5 separate regions of the Homo sapiens genome follow, and regions 2, 3, 4 and 5 are each linked to region 1. Evidence: promoter capture Hi-C in 16 types of primary human blood cells and fetal thymus (Javierre and others, 2016). All regions are on one chromosome and are shown on one strand. Each heading gives the region's core, a stretch centred on a gene start or on the middle of the fragment in contact. The rest is flanking DNA. Distances are from core to core; before and after follow the strand shown.

Region 1 (2,563 bases), core at 29-2,528:
GTGTCAGGCTCTGTCTTTGGCTCCATGCCTCAGTTTCCTCAGCTGTAACAAGGAAATGGTAACACTTCCTTCTAAGAGGGATCTGCTGAGAAAGGAATGAGATGTATGGGAGAGTTAGTTAAATCTGAATGCATCAGATCCTTATTCTTTTTCTCCTGACCTTATTCCGTATACCTTGAGGAAATTCAAAATAGAGTTCAGGGCCGGGCGCGGTGGTTCACGCCTGTAATCCCAGCACTTTGGGAGGCCGAGGCGGGCGGATCACGAGGTCAGGAGATCGAGACCATCCTGACCAACATGGTGAAACCCCGTCTCCACTAAAAATACAAAAATTAGCGGGACGTGGTGGCAGGCGCCTGTAATCCCAGCTACTCGGGAGGCTGAGGCAGGAGAATGGCTTGAACCCAGGAGGCAGAGGTTGCAGTGAGCCGAGATCACACCATTGCACTCCAGCCTGGGCAACAAGAGCGAAACTCTATCTAAAAAAAAAAAAAAAATCCGTCATTTAATCTTCCTAACAACCACTTAAATTGGTTATCCCCATTTCATAGATGAAGGAACAGATTTACAGGGAGATTAAGTTACGTGCCCAACATGTCCCTGCCGCTAATGACGGAGCGGGGATTGGAATCCCAGGTCTCAGACTCTAGAAGGTGCAAAGCAAAAATTCATATTTTCCCATGTCTCAACACTTCTCCCTCTTTGGACTGACGGCCCCAAAGTGCAGTGGTCCACGGCCCCAAGCGGTCTGAGAAAGTCACCCCGTTAGGACACCGTCTGCTGACTGCGCAGCGCTTCCTCCGGCTTGGCGTTCTTACGGCCAGCCTCAGAGGAAAGGGCAGGCAGAGGCGGGTCCCTTACGGACGGGGTGTCCCGTTCCGGTAGGGAGGACCCCATCTCTTGAGTCCCTGGGGATGCAGACACCCCGAAATCCAGTATCTTTGGTCTCCTGCTTTCTGCTGGGCAGGACGTGAACCAGATCCCCAGTCCAGGATGCAGGACCTGGGGTCCACCTCCGGTTCTCCGCCCTTAGTGGGTGGGAGGTGGGACTGCCCCCTGAGATCTCAGCAGCCACGGTCTCACTGCGGCCTCAAGTCCCCACCTAGCCAGCCACAATTCCGGACCCGGGATGACAGGATCCCTCGCGCAGGCGCGCTCCAGCACATGGCGCCCTGCTGCAGCAAGGGCCGACGGCGGCGGAGTCCGCCGCTATCCCATCAGCCCGGCCAGGCAGGTCCAGCTCTCACCCGCCCAGGTCGTCCCGCCTCCCCTATCCCGTCTTGCTCTGCGGCGCAGGGGCAAGATGGCTGCTGAGAAGCAGGTCCCAGGCGGCGGCGGCGGCGGCGGCAGTGGCGGCGGCGGTGGCAGTGGCGGCGGCGGTAGCGGCGGTGGACGTGGTGCCGGAGGGGAAGAAAATAAAGAAAACGAACGCCCTTCGGCCGGATCGAAGGCAAACAAAGAATTTGGGGATAGCCTGAGTTTGGAGAGTATCCTAGAGTAATCGGGCCTAACTCGCAATGATTACGTGTCGAACTGGAGGGCTGGGGGCGGGAGAGGCGGCGGGTCCCGACAAGTCCTGGCAGGAGAGGCCGAGGGTTGCAGTTTCTCTCGCCCTTACCTTTTGGTGCTCAGAATTCCGGGGGGGGTCTGTCTCTCGACTAGTCTTTCCTCGTGTCCCCCTCGCCGTCCTGGCTAGGTCCGTTTCTTCCAGTGGCACTGGGATATCAGGCAGGTTTCCCCTGGTGCCCCGCAGTTGTCCAGTTGGAGGGCTTGTGACCAAGTGACACCTTGAGCACCTTGCTTTGGCACCTTGAGCCACTGAACTGGGGAGAGGAAACTGCAGTCTTGACATTTGGCTTAATACTCTTGTCTGACAGTCGTCATAGACTGAGTAGTAAAACCTACAGCTCGATACTTTGAAAGTGGAGGTAAAGATTGACTCAGGAAAAGCTTGTTGCCCATTTTGATTGTAAGTTACCGTAGTTAATATCGATTGTGTCATTTTTTTCTGATCGGTCTGTAGGCATTTTATCTTGCTGACAGTCATTCATATAAGCTGGAGGAATCGGTTTCTAGTTTCCATCAGTGTGTATCTCAACCAAGTGCTTGTGGTACTAGTTTGTGACCTTTTGAAATGAATAACAAATGGAGAAAACGTAGGCGAGTTTCTGAAATAACACATTCAACTTGACATCTTAATGTGCTTAAAGTTCTCAGGCGCTTGGAGTTAAATATTTTGAATTACTGGTAATAGTTCCAAGTAGACGCTAGCGAGCCCTGATTTTACTGAGACCTTTATATCTCTTTGTCCCGTTTTAGTAATTTAAAGAGTCCTTTTAGCGTTCACTATTTTAAAATATGTCTCTAGAGAAGTGTTGAGGAAACATTAAAACTATACCTATATAGATGAAGGTCATTGGACTTTCTAAAGATTAGTACATAATCTTAAATATTTTAAGATTATTAAAAGGAGAATCTGGCCATTCTTCTTTTGAAAGAAAAACCTTAATACTTTTATGCAAACTGTAGCCTAGCTTGGTTGACATGTGCTAATCATAGACTC
Region 2 (2,563 bases), core at 39-2,538, 370 kb before region 1:
TTGTCTTTTTAGCAGAGACGGGGTTTCACCATATTGGTCAGGCTGGTCTCGAACTCTTGACCTCAGGTGATCCATCCGCCTCAGCTTCCCAAAGTGCTGGGATTACAGGCATGAGCTACCGCGCCTGGCCGACCATGCCCTCTTAACGGTATTTCCTTCCTTGGGGTTCTATTATACCAGACTATACCAAATGTTTCTCTTTTTTGCCTTTTGTCTTCTTCCTCTTACCCATAGATGTGCAGCTTTTCCAAAGACCTCTCTTTTCTTTATCTCTTCCTCCCCAGTTTTTTGGAGTGACCTCCCTGCTTGTAGCTGCATCTGGTACCTGTATTTAGGTGACTTCCACAGTGACATCACATGCCCAGCTGCTTACTTGATAGCTCCATTGTGCCATGTAGACTTTGTGGGTATAAAATCTTGTGATTGTGACTGCCCTTCCCATCCCCAAGTCTGTGGACTTAAAAAAAAAAAAAATGTTCTGACTGGGCACAGTGGCTCACGCCTGTAATCCCAGCATTTTGGGAGGCCGAGGTGGGTGGATCACTTGAGGTCAGGAGTTCGAGACCAGCCTGGCCAACATGGTGAAACCCCATCTCTACTAAAAATGCAAAAATTAGCCATGCGTGGTGGTGGGTGCCTGTGATCCCAGCTACTCGGGAGGCTAGGGCAGGAGAATTGCTTGAACCCAGGAGGCAGAGGTTGCAGTGAGCCGAGATCGTGCCCCGGCACTCCAGCCTGGGCGACAGAGTGAGACTCTTTCTCGAGGAAAAAAATATATATATATATTCCCCAACTTTTTTTGTTTTTGGTTCTGAACCCAAGACCCAACTTTTTAATAGGAAAAAATATTGACCATACCAAAATGTTGAAAGCCAGTAATTGCTAACCCCCAACCATTATGAGTCAGCAGTTGTTAACATCCTGCCATATTTGCCTTATCTGTATGCTTATGTAAATATATTTCCTCCTGAATTATGTCTGGTACTAACTCCTGCTAAGTTAGTGGCAGACATGATAGCACTTCACCCCTAAATACCTAAGCTTGAATCTTCTCAAAATTAGAGCATTTGGGGTCATTTTTAATTTACCTTCTTTGGCCCTCATTCTAACTTGTCATCAGTTCTTTGAGAGGCCTCTTGCATCCTGTGCCTGCATTTCCCTTTCACAACCCTGGTTTGCTCTCTGCTTGCCTCATGCCTGCACTGTGTAGCCTTCTCCCTGGTCTCCCTGCCTCTAGTCCTCCTTCAACCAGTGAACAGCGCTGCCGCCAACTGACCTCCAAAGGGCTGACCTCCCAAGTGATCGCCTGGATTGTGTCAGGACCCAGCCTCTGATCATGCCTTGGTTGTCATTCAGGGCCCCTCACCTACACATCCTGCTCTATCTCCTGCCTCTTCAGTTGATTCCAGCCAATCTGACTGCTTTTCCCCAACTCAATTGTGCCGTTCCCTTCCTCTCATGCCCCATGGCACACCCACATTCTCTCCTGGATGGGAAGCTCCTTGAGAAACAGAGACAGCAAATCCTAAAGCTTGTGTGCTATCACGCACATGCAGACTCTTGGGAAACATCTTCATGAATGACCAGTTTGCTCCCTCCCACTTACTACAAATAGTATTCTTAGTCTTCTTCCAGATGCCCTGTGGTCTGTGCTGGAGCTGTATGGGCCCCTTACTAGACCACTCTGTCTCCCACCCCCCGTACTAGGTGTGTTGACCATGTACAGTAATTTATTGCCCAAGTTGGGTTCTTTTGAGAGTACTATGAATAATTACTCCAGGACTGGGACGTATGGGCATCCTAATACTAGGAAGAGCAGATTAATCAGAATACACCATATTGTAGTTACTACTTTGGCAACTTCCGTCGCGGGCTCCCCAGGCAGACTACGTGCATTGTGGACTAGGCTAGAGCTAGCTAGAGCTGGTGTCACCTGTGGTCGAAATGAAGCTGCTTCTGGCTGCATTTCCCCTGTAAGAACCCCGCCTAAAGCACTTGACAAATGGCAGATTCCACACACGTGGGTTTCCTGAATGGTTATCAGCACCCAGTCCTCACCTTAGGAGGATGGCTAAGTACGAACGAGGCTCTCTATTGGAAAAAGAATGCCCCACCCGACTGCAAATGAATCAGGAACGCAGCTTAGGCTATGCACTCTGCCTGCACCAAGACCCTTGGGGGCGGGGCCTGGAGTTGCAGTGGCTATGCCAGGCCTATTACTTTGAAGGAGTCAGGAACCATCTATTGAAAGTAGATATAACCACCCCTGTTTATCAGTGGAGGGGGAGGGGGAAGTGAAGAGAGCATGAATAAATGGATTCTAATCCAGCACTTTTCCAAGGTGAATGCCACATGCCATCACCTAGGGTCTCCTAATGCAAATTGTCCTAATTCCATTGGGCTGAAGAATCTGCGTGTCTAACAAACTCCCAGTGACATTGATGCTGCTGGCTGGGACTGTCTTTTGAATTGCACTTATATGGGCCCTTCCAAACCTCGTTGATGTCAATGGGTTCAGTTTTAGTACGTCTTTGGTTCGAGGCTTTTTCTCTCCCCTCTGCTT
Region 3 (2,563 bases), core at 20-2,519, 320 kb before region 1:
AGCTCTAACAGAGAAGGAGAGAAAGGAGAGAGCCGACCCAGTTCTAGCCCCACCTGCTGGGTCCTGAGCAGAAGGGCTACACGGGCTCTCCTTCCCTCGCCTCCTGGTTGGAGCCACACAGCCCAGCTCTCCTCTCCTGGTCCACACAGGGGGCAGGAGTGGGGGCGGGAATGGCTTGCCCCATCACCTTAACGGCCATTCCAGGGAACGCAGCAGGATATGTCGGCCCTTCTACATGTCCCCTCTTGTCATATGTTCCCAGCTCCCCACACAGGCCTCCTTGGCTGCATCATTAGCTGACCCTGCGCTTTTCAGGTGTGGGACTGGGCCTGCCAAGGTCCCCTAACGCCTTGGACAGATGCTGACGAAGTGCACAGAGCAGGAGGAGAGGCTGGAACAGACCACTGGCTGGGGCTTTGGGTCCAGCTGGAGGGTGGGACAGGTGAAGGGCCTCTCCCAGAGACCTAGGGACTGCAAAAGCCAGAGCAGAGGTCAGGGAAAGGGTGGAATGAGGTTGCCAAGGCCTCATGAGCCCAGTCGCCATCAGCTGTGCGGATCAGGGATCCCCAGAGCTCCTCCTTAGTGGTGGGGAGGTGACTTCCTGTCTGCTTACCCTGGCACTTCCCTTCTGCCCCCAGCACTTGTACAACATAGAGTCTGAGATTGAGGAGTCAGACTACGATTCGGTAGAAGGCAGCACCAGCGGGGCATCCTCGGATGAATGGGAAGATGATAGTGACAGCTGGGAGACGGACAATGGGCTGGTGGAGGACGAGCACCCCAAGATAGAGGAGCCCCCCATCCCACCCCTGGAGCAGCCGGTGGCCCCTGAGGACAAGGGAGTGGTGATCAGTGAAGAGGCAGCCACAGCTGCCGTCCAGGGGGCTGTGGCCATGGCTGCCCCCATGGCCGGGCTGATGGAGAAGGCTGGCAAGGACGGGCCACCCAAGAGCTTCCGGGAGTTGAAAGAGGCCATCAAGATCCTGGAGAGCCTCAAGAACATGACTGTGGAGCAGCTGCTGACGGGCTCGCCCACCTCTCCGACTGTGGAGCCTGAGAAGCCAACTCGGGAGAAGAAGTTTCTGGATGACATCAAGAAGCTACAGGAAAACCTCAAGAAGACCCTGGACAATGTGGCCATTGTAGAGGAGGAGAAGATGGAAGCAGTGCCCGACGTAGAGCGCAAGGAGGACAAGCCCGAGGGGCAGTCACCTGTGAAGGCTGAGTGGCCCAGCGAAACCCCGGTGCTGTGCCAGCAGTGTGGCGGCAAGCCTGGCGTCACCTTCACCAGCGCCAAGGGCGAGGTCTTCTCCGTACTGGAGTTTGCACCCTGTGAGTCAGCCCTTGCCTGGTCTTCGCCTTCCCCCGCCTTCTCGGGGCTCCTGTTTGTGTCACCAGATCTGGGTGCAGGGTGGTTAGTCCCCTCGCCAGACCCCAGCTACTGCCCCAGGGCAAACCATTTCCCTGTGTGGTCACAGTGCTGAGGCCAGCAGCGGCGAGTGGGAAGTCTGTGGGTGTGCTCACCTGTCCAGCCAGGTTGGCAGATGGAGCTCCAGGGCCTCTCCATGAGGGACTGACTATTCTCTTCCCCCCTCTAGCAAATCATTCTTTTAAGAAAATTGAGTTCCAGCCTCCAGAAGCCAAGAAGTTCTTCAGCACAGTGCGGAAGGAGATGGCGCTGCTGGCTACCTCACTGCCTGAGGGCATCATGGTCAAGACTTTTGAAGATAGAATGGCAAGTAGGCTTGGCATGGGCAGGTGCAGATGTGCTGTGTGGGCACCCAGTGCCCAAGAGGCCACCAACCTTGGGTCCCCAAACCTCCGGGGCTGACTGGCACCTGCGAGGACACTCACCCACCCACCTTTTACAGGGGCGGTCACAGGCTCAGTCAGGTGAGGGCTGACTCAGCCGTGTGTCCAGGCCAGATGGTTCTTTCTTTCCTCCCTCCTTTAAAAAATTACTTTCTCGGCCGGGCGCAGTGGCTCACACCCGTAATCCCAGCACTTTGGGAGGCCGAGGTGGGTGGATCACGAGGTCAGGAGATCGAGACCATCCTGGCTAACACAGTGAAACCCCGTCTCCACTAAAAAAAAAAAAAAAATTACAAAAAACTCTCCCGCCACCATGCGGGCGCCTGTAGTCCCAGCTACTCTGGAGGCTGAGGCAGGAGAATGGCGTGAACCTGGGAGGTGGAGCTTGCAGTGAGCCGAGATCACGCCACTGCACTCCAGCCTGGGTGACAGAGCGAGATTCTGTCTCAAAAAAAAAAATTACTTTGAAATAGGCCGGGTGCGGTGGCTCACGACTGTAATCCCAGCACTTCGGGAAGCCGAGGCAGGTGGATCACCTGAGGTCAGAAGTTTGAGACCAGCCTGACCAACCCGGTGAAACCCTGTCTCTACTAAAAATACAAAAATTAGCCGGATGTGGTGGCGGGTGCCAGTAATCCCAGCTACTCGGGAGACTGAGGCAGGAGAATCACTTGAACCTGGGAGGCAGAGGTTGTAGTGAGCCAAGATCGCACCATTGCACTCCAGCCTGGGCAACAGAGCGAGACTTCAT
Region 4 (2,563 bases), core at 41-2,540, 280 kb before region 1:
CTCTTCGGATGCCCGGAGGGGGCGGTGGCCTTGCCTCTGGCTCTGAGGCGGCGGCGCCGGGCGCTGCGAAGGCTCGGCCGCTGTAGTCAGTGGTGTGGGGTGCGCAAGGGCACGGACCTCGGAGCTCTCCCCGCTTGCGCCGAGTTTCTCAGCGCCTTCCCCACCCAAACCGGGGTCTCGCAGTCGGAAGCACTCAGAGTGCAGCCCCGCGCGGGGCCGGTCGTAACCGCGCCGCGGGCCGGACGATGCCCAAGAAGCTGCTGCTGTTGCCCCCGCCCTCCGCGTCCTCGGCTTTCCGCGTCCCGCGCGCCCGCCCCGTTCCCCCGCCGGCCATGAACGCCGCTCGCACCGGCTACCGAGTCTTCTCGGCCAACTCCACGGCCGCCTGCACGGAGCTGGCCAAGCGCATCACAGAGTAAGGGGGCGGTGGGAGGGCCGGGCCGGGGGCGGCGGCGCCTAGCTCTCCTTCGCGCCCGGAGGGACCCGCTCCCCTCCACCCGCCCCACCTCCTGCACCTGGGGCGGGAGGCGCGGGCCTTCCCAGCCGGACAAAGCTTGGAGGTGACGGATACCGCCCCCCGCTCCCCGGTTTTGCAGCTGGGAGGCTTGGGGCGGACTCTCGGTGACCTCAGCCCCCCGCCCCGTGACTGGGTCCGCGGCCTGCCTGCCTTTCGTCTCCGCAGTCCCACACCCCGGGGCGGGCCGAGCTTTCTGGAGCCCCGGAGTGCGTGTCTTGGGGAAAGGGGCTCAGGGCTTGGCTTCCTTTCCCACGGCTGGAGTTGACCTGGGAATCTGACCGCCGCCACTCTCAAGTCTCACTGCAGTGAGACCCGCGGGCGTGGTTGTGAGTTGGGGGATCCGACGCGGCAGGTGCGGTCGCAGAGCAAAGGTGTGGGGACTGGCAGTGCGAAGAAGGCAATTCCAGGGAGGCAGATGGGCCGGAGCTGGTGGTAGAAATGACAGGCCTGACCCTGCTTTGTAAATCAGCTTGGGATAAGATCAGTCATTTGTGTCTTTAACCCAACCAAGCCCCTGGTCTTAAGTCGCCTTTGGGGTCTGACAGCTCTGAGATGCCCTCCCAGCCTTGCCACTTACTAGCTCTGTGTCAGTGGGCAAGAGACTTGATTTCCCTGAACCTCATCTGTGAAATGGGCATGGTTGAGAATATTGTATGATCGGGATAATGTAGAAGTAGTATCTGGTTCTAGCAGAGTAGGGGCTCATAGTGGCCCTCTGAATAGTTGTTTACTAAGTGGCCTCTTTTCTTTTTCTTTTTCTTTTCTTTTTTTTTTTTTTTTTTTTTTTGAGACGGAGTCTCGCTCTGTCACCCAGGCTGGAGTGCAGTGGCGAGATCTCGGCTCACTGCAAGCTCCGCCTCCCGGGTTCACGCCATTGTCCTGCCCCAGCCTCCCAAGTAGCTGGGACTACAGGCACCCGCCACCACACCCGGCTCATTTTTTGTATTTTTAGTAGAGACTGGGTTTCACCGTGTTAGCCAGGATGGTTTCGATCTTCTGACCTCGTGATCCGCCCGCCTCGGCCTCCCAAAGTGCTGGGATTACAGGCTTCAGCCACCGCGCCCGGTGAAATGGCCTCTTTTCTAGTTGGCTCTTTTGGAGAATCCCAGAGCTCTGATATAAAGGAGGAGCCTTATATGCCCTTTCTACATACACTTGTTAGAAATCTAAGACATAAAATGAATAGCTCGTCTTTTAATATTTAAAGCCATTTTCACATTTTAAACAGTTTTCATAGAGTTACTTCGTTACTTTTTTAGGGTTGACAAATGATTGCAGGGATATATCTTAAACTTCTGGGGGGAAATGTAGAAGAAAGGGAAAACTTTAGTCATTTTTTTTTCAGCTCTGCTTGTTTTTTTTTTTAATAGTTGGAGTTTTGGAGAGTGGAAGAATGTTAAAAAAACAAATCAATCCTTTTGCAGTCTACTACCTAGTTTCTATTTCTAACCCCTGATTGTTTGTCTTTCTTTCTGAGGCCAACGAAAACACTGACTTTAAACGAAGCTTCTGTGTGTATCTAGTGGTTCAGATTTACCCTACCTGACCTTGAGGGAGAGCAGAGGGGAGCAGGGCACATTTTAAAAGTCAGTGAGGGTTTTTTTTGTTTGTTTGTTTTAGATTCTTTCCTGGCAAATTCCCGAAAGATTTTGAATTACTATAAATGATACATATTCATAAATACTTCCCTTACCTGTTTTACTTGTCGCTCAGTAAGATTTTGTTTTATCTTATCTGTTTTATTTATTTTGAGACAGTCTTGTGTCACCCAGGCTGGAGTGCAGTGGTGCCATCTCGGCTTACTGCAACCTCCACGTCCCAAGTTCAAGCGATTCTCCTGCCTCAGCCTCGAAAGTAGCTGGGATCACAGATGCCCGACACCACACCTGGCTAGTTTTTTGTTTTTTGTTTTTTGTTTTGAGACGGAGTCTCGCTGTCGCCCAGGCTGGAGTGCAGTGGCGCGATCTCGGCTCACTGCAGGCTACGCCCCCAGGGTTCACGCCATTCTCCTGCCTCAGCCTTCCGAGTAGCTGGGACTACAGGCCC
Region 5 (2,563 bases), core at 25-2,524, 260 kb before region 1:
GTAGGGGTGAACTTTGTAATTTTTTGTTTTAAAATTTCAGGTTTAACTCACATTATCACTATGGATCTTCATCAAAAGGAAATACAAGGCTTTTTCAGCTTTCCTGTGGACAACCTTAGAGCCTCACCTTTCCTGCTTCAGTATATCCAGGAAGAAGTGAGGAACCACCAGCAAACACCCCATTGTCCTCAAAAGAGATCTTATTTAGTTTTTCTCTGGTATCAGATTTCGTTACTGGAAGGCACATCAAATGAGCTCTCCCTTAAGTCACAATGCCTGAGGCAGCAGACAGGGTCAGCTTTAGTCGTGGACGATCATAGCTTTAAAAGACACTAAAAACAGATTTTTTTTCTACGTATCTTTAGCAATTTGCTTATGTTTTCTAAAATGAATGTTTTAAGAATTATTTTTAAAAAATTCTTGACGTAGGAGTGCTTTTTCCAGTGATGTTAATTGATAAATATTGAAAAATCTAAAACTTGTGACTAAAATTCTAGCATATTTGATGACTAGTTTGGATCATTATAAGAGGGAAAACTTGAATACCAGCATCCAGGTGTTATTTTCTGATAACTTTTCAGTATTTTCTATTTTTCCTTCAAATCTAGATTCCAAATTACAGAAATGCAGTCATTGTAGCTAAGTCTCCTGATGCTGCAAAGAGGTAAGTAAGCTAGACATGGGTCCTGATCCCTCCTGAGTGCTCCCGAAGTCAGAATGAGCTGCTTTGGAATCCAGAGGCTGTCACTCGTGGCCTTTGAAAGCCCACTGGCTCTCATGTTAACCCCTCCATCGTTGTCATGTCCCATGCCACACACAGCTTTATCTCCAGCCTCCAGACAGCACACATGATCGCTGAGTTGCTCAGCTTTCCTCTGGGAAAACAAAGTTCCTTCAAGTTCTCAGAGAAAGGAAAGCAATGAGGCTATGAGCATTTTTCAAGCAATGGTTTTTTTTTTTGTTTTTTTTTTGAAATGGAGTTTCATTCTGTCACCTAGGCTGGAGTGCAATGGCGCGATCTCGGCTCACTGCAACCTCCGCCTCCTGGGTTCAAGCAGCTCTCCTGCCTCAGCCTCCCCAGTAGCTGGGATTACAGGCGCCTGTCACCACTCCTGGCTAGTTTTTTGTATTTTTAGTAGAGATGGGGTTTCACCATGTTCATCAGACTAGTCTTGAACTCCTGACCTCAAGTGATCTGTCTGCCTTGGTCTCCCAAAGTGCTGGGTTTACAGGCGTAAGCCACTGTGCCCGGCCCAGGCAATGGTTTTTAACGTTGTTCTTTCTTCTGAAGATGACTATCAGAATATTGGACAAAGGATAGAATCAAAATTATCTAGAATCAGGGCCAGGCGGGGTGGCTCACGCCTGTAATTCCAGCACTTTGGGAGGCCAAAGCGGGAGATCGCTTGAGCCCAGGGGTTCAAGACCAGCCTGGGCAACATAGACCCCGTCTCTACAAAATACAAAAAATAGCCAGTTGTGGCAACACATGCCTGTGGTCCCCGCTACTCGGGAGGTTGAGGTGGGAGGATCACCTGAGCCTCAGGAGGTTGAGGCTGCAGTGAGCCATGTTGACGCCACTGCACTCCAGCCTGGGTGACAGTGAGACCTTGTCTCAAAAAAAAAAAAAAATGTCTAGAATCAGATACAATCCCAAACCCTAACTCACGTGCCCTTTGAGTCATTTACATGCTGGCCTGGGCCTCACATTCTCATTTATATAAATAATGCCTTTGTATGTCCCTGAAACGTTAAATATTTTCATTTTATGGTTAAAAAATGATGCCGTAGTGATGCGTGGGATTTCTTCCTGTCAGTTTCACCATTTCCCTTTGTCCTTCTAGGGCCCAGTCCTATGCGGAGAGACTGCGTCTGGGTTTGGCCGTCATTCACGGGGAAGCTCAGTGCACGGAACTGGACATGGACGATGGTCGTCACTCCCCGCCTATGGTCAAAAATGCTACTGTGCACCCAGGCCTGGAGTTGCCATGTAAGATGAGCTCTGTGTTTTTATTTTATTTGTAAATTGAAGAAAGTTTTTTTTTGTTGGTTTTGTTGGTTTTGTTGTTGTTGTTTTGTTTTGTTTTGTTTTGTTTTTGAGATGGAGTCTCACTCTGTCACCCAGGCTAGAGTGCAGTGGCGTGATCTTGGCTGACTGCAACCTCTGCCTCCTGGGTTCAAGCAATTCTCCTGCCTCAGCCTCGTGAGTGGCAAAGATTACAGGTGTGTGCCACCACGCCCAGCTAATTTTTGTATTTTTAGTAGAGACAGGGTTTCACCATGTTGGCCAGGCTGGTCTCAAACTCCAGACCTCGTGATCTGCTCCAGACCTGGTGATCTGCTCGCCTCAGCCTCCCAGAGTGCTGGGATTACAGGCATGAGCCACTGCACCTGGCCCTGAAGAAAGTTTTAAGTAGTATGAATGGCTAGGAGTTATCGACTATGTAGATATATGCTGTCTTGTTGTTTTTTAATAATGGAATGGTATTTGCTATCCTCCGCCTTTTTTTTTTTTTTTTTGAGAAAGGATCTCCCCCTGTTGCTCTGTACAGTGGCACAGTCA

The links. The method cuts DNA at HindIII sites, captures the fragments that hold promoters and counts their contacts. A CHiCAGO score of 5 or more calls a contact.
Region 2: a contact is called between a fragment that was not itself captured here and the fragment with the promoter of SRP68 in region 1, in 1 of 17 cell types (M0 macrophages). The highest score is 5.1, in M0 macrophages.
Region 3: a fragment that was not itself captured here is called in contact with the fragment with the promoter of SRP68 in region 1 in 1 of 17 cell types (naive CD8 T cells); the score reaches 5.1 in naive CD8 T cells.
Region 4: a fragment that was not itself captured here is called in contact with the fragment with the promoter of SRP68 in region 1 in 10 of 17 cell types (M2 macrophages, M0 macrophages, non-activated CD4 T cells and 7 more); the score reaches 11.2 in M2 macrophages.
Region 5: a contact is called between a fragment that was not itself captured here and the fragment with the promoter of SRP68 in region 1, in 8 of 17 cell types (M2 macrophages, M0 macrophages, M1 macrophages and 5 more). The highest score is 9.8, in M2 macrophages.

Annotation. Positions count from the first base shown.
Region 1 is chr17:76,071,232-76,073,794 of GRCh38, reverse strand. SRP68 (signal recognition particle 68) reads left to right here and starts at 1,278. Exons shown (of 16, transcript NM_014230.4): 1 at 1,278-1,487. The coding sequence starts at 1,304. It also overlaps a transcript of GALR2 not described here. RefSeq lists enhancers at 336-1,163, 1,116-1,165, 1,164-1,991. The HindIII fragment of the contact is 7,541 bases long and covers 1-1,952 here.
Region 2 is chr17:76,441,506-76,444,068 of GRCh38, reverse strand. The region is part of intron 1 of UBE2O (ubiquitin conjugating enzyme E2 O); the gene reads left to right. Among named protein-coding and RNA genes, the nearest start is that of UBE2O, 10 kb to the left of the region's middle. RefSeq lists enhancers at 957-1,076, 2,501-2,563. The HindIII fragment of the contact is 490 bases long and covers 1,044-1,533 here.
Region 3 is chr17:76,394,897-76,397,459 of GRCh38, reverse strand. UBE2O (ubiquitin conjugating enzyme E2 O) reads left to right here. Exons shown (of 18, transcript NM_022066.4): 14 at 639-1,332; 15 at 1,599-1,735. Among named protein-coding and RNA genes, the nearest start is that of SPHK1, 12 kb to the right of the region's middle. The HindIII fragment of the contact is 6,073 bases long and covers 1-2,563 here.
Region 4 is chr17:76,351,386-76,353,948 of GRCh38, reverse strand. PRPSAP1 (phosphoribosyl pyrophosphate synthetase associated protein 1) reads left to right here and starts at 33. Exons shown (of 10, transcript NM_002766.3): 1 at 33-415. The coding sequence starts at 246. RefSeq lists enhancers at 1-67, 917-976, 2,516-2,563 and a silencer at 237-556. The HindIII fragment of the contact is 1,470 bases long and covers 556-2,025 here.
Region 5 is chr17:76,328,144-76,330,706 of GRCh38, reverse strand. It overlaps PRPSAP1 (phosphoribosyl pyrophosphate synthetase associated protein 1), which reads left to right. Exons shown (of 10, transcript NM_002766.3): 5 at 41-156; 6 at 609-664; 7 at 1,845-1,990. Among named protein-coding and RNA genes, the nearest start is that of QRICH2, 21 kb to the right of the region's middle. The HindIII fragment of the contact is 3,381 bases long and covers 1-2,563 here.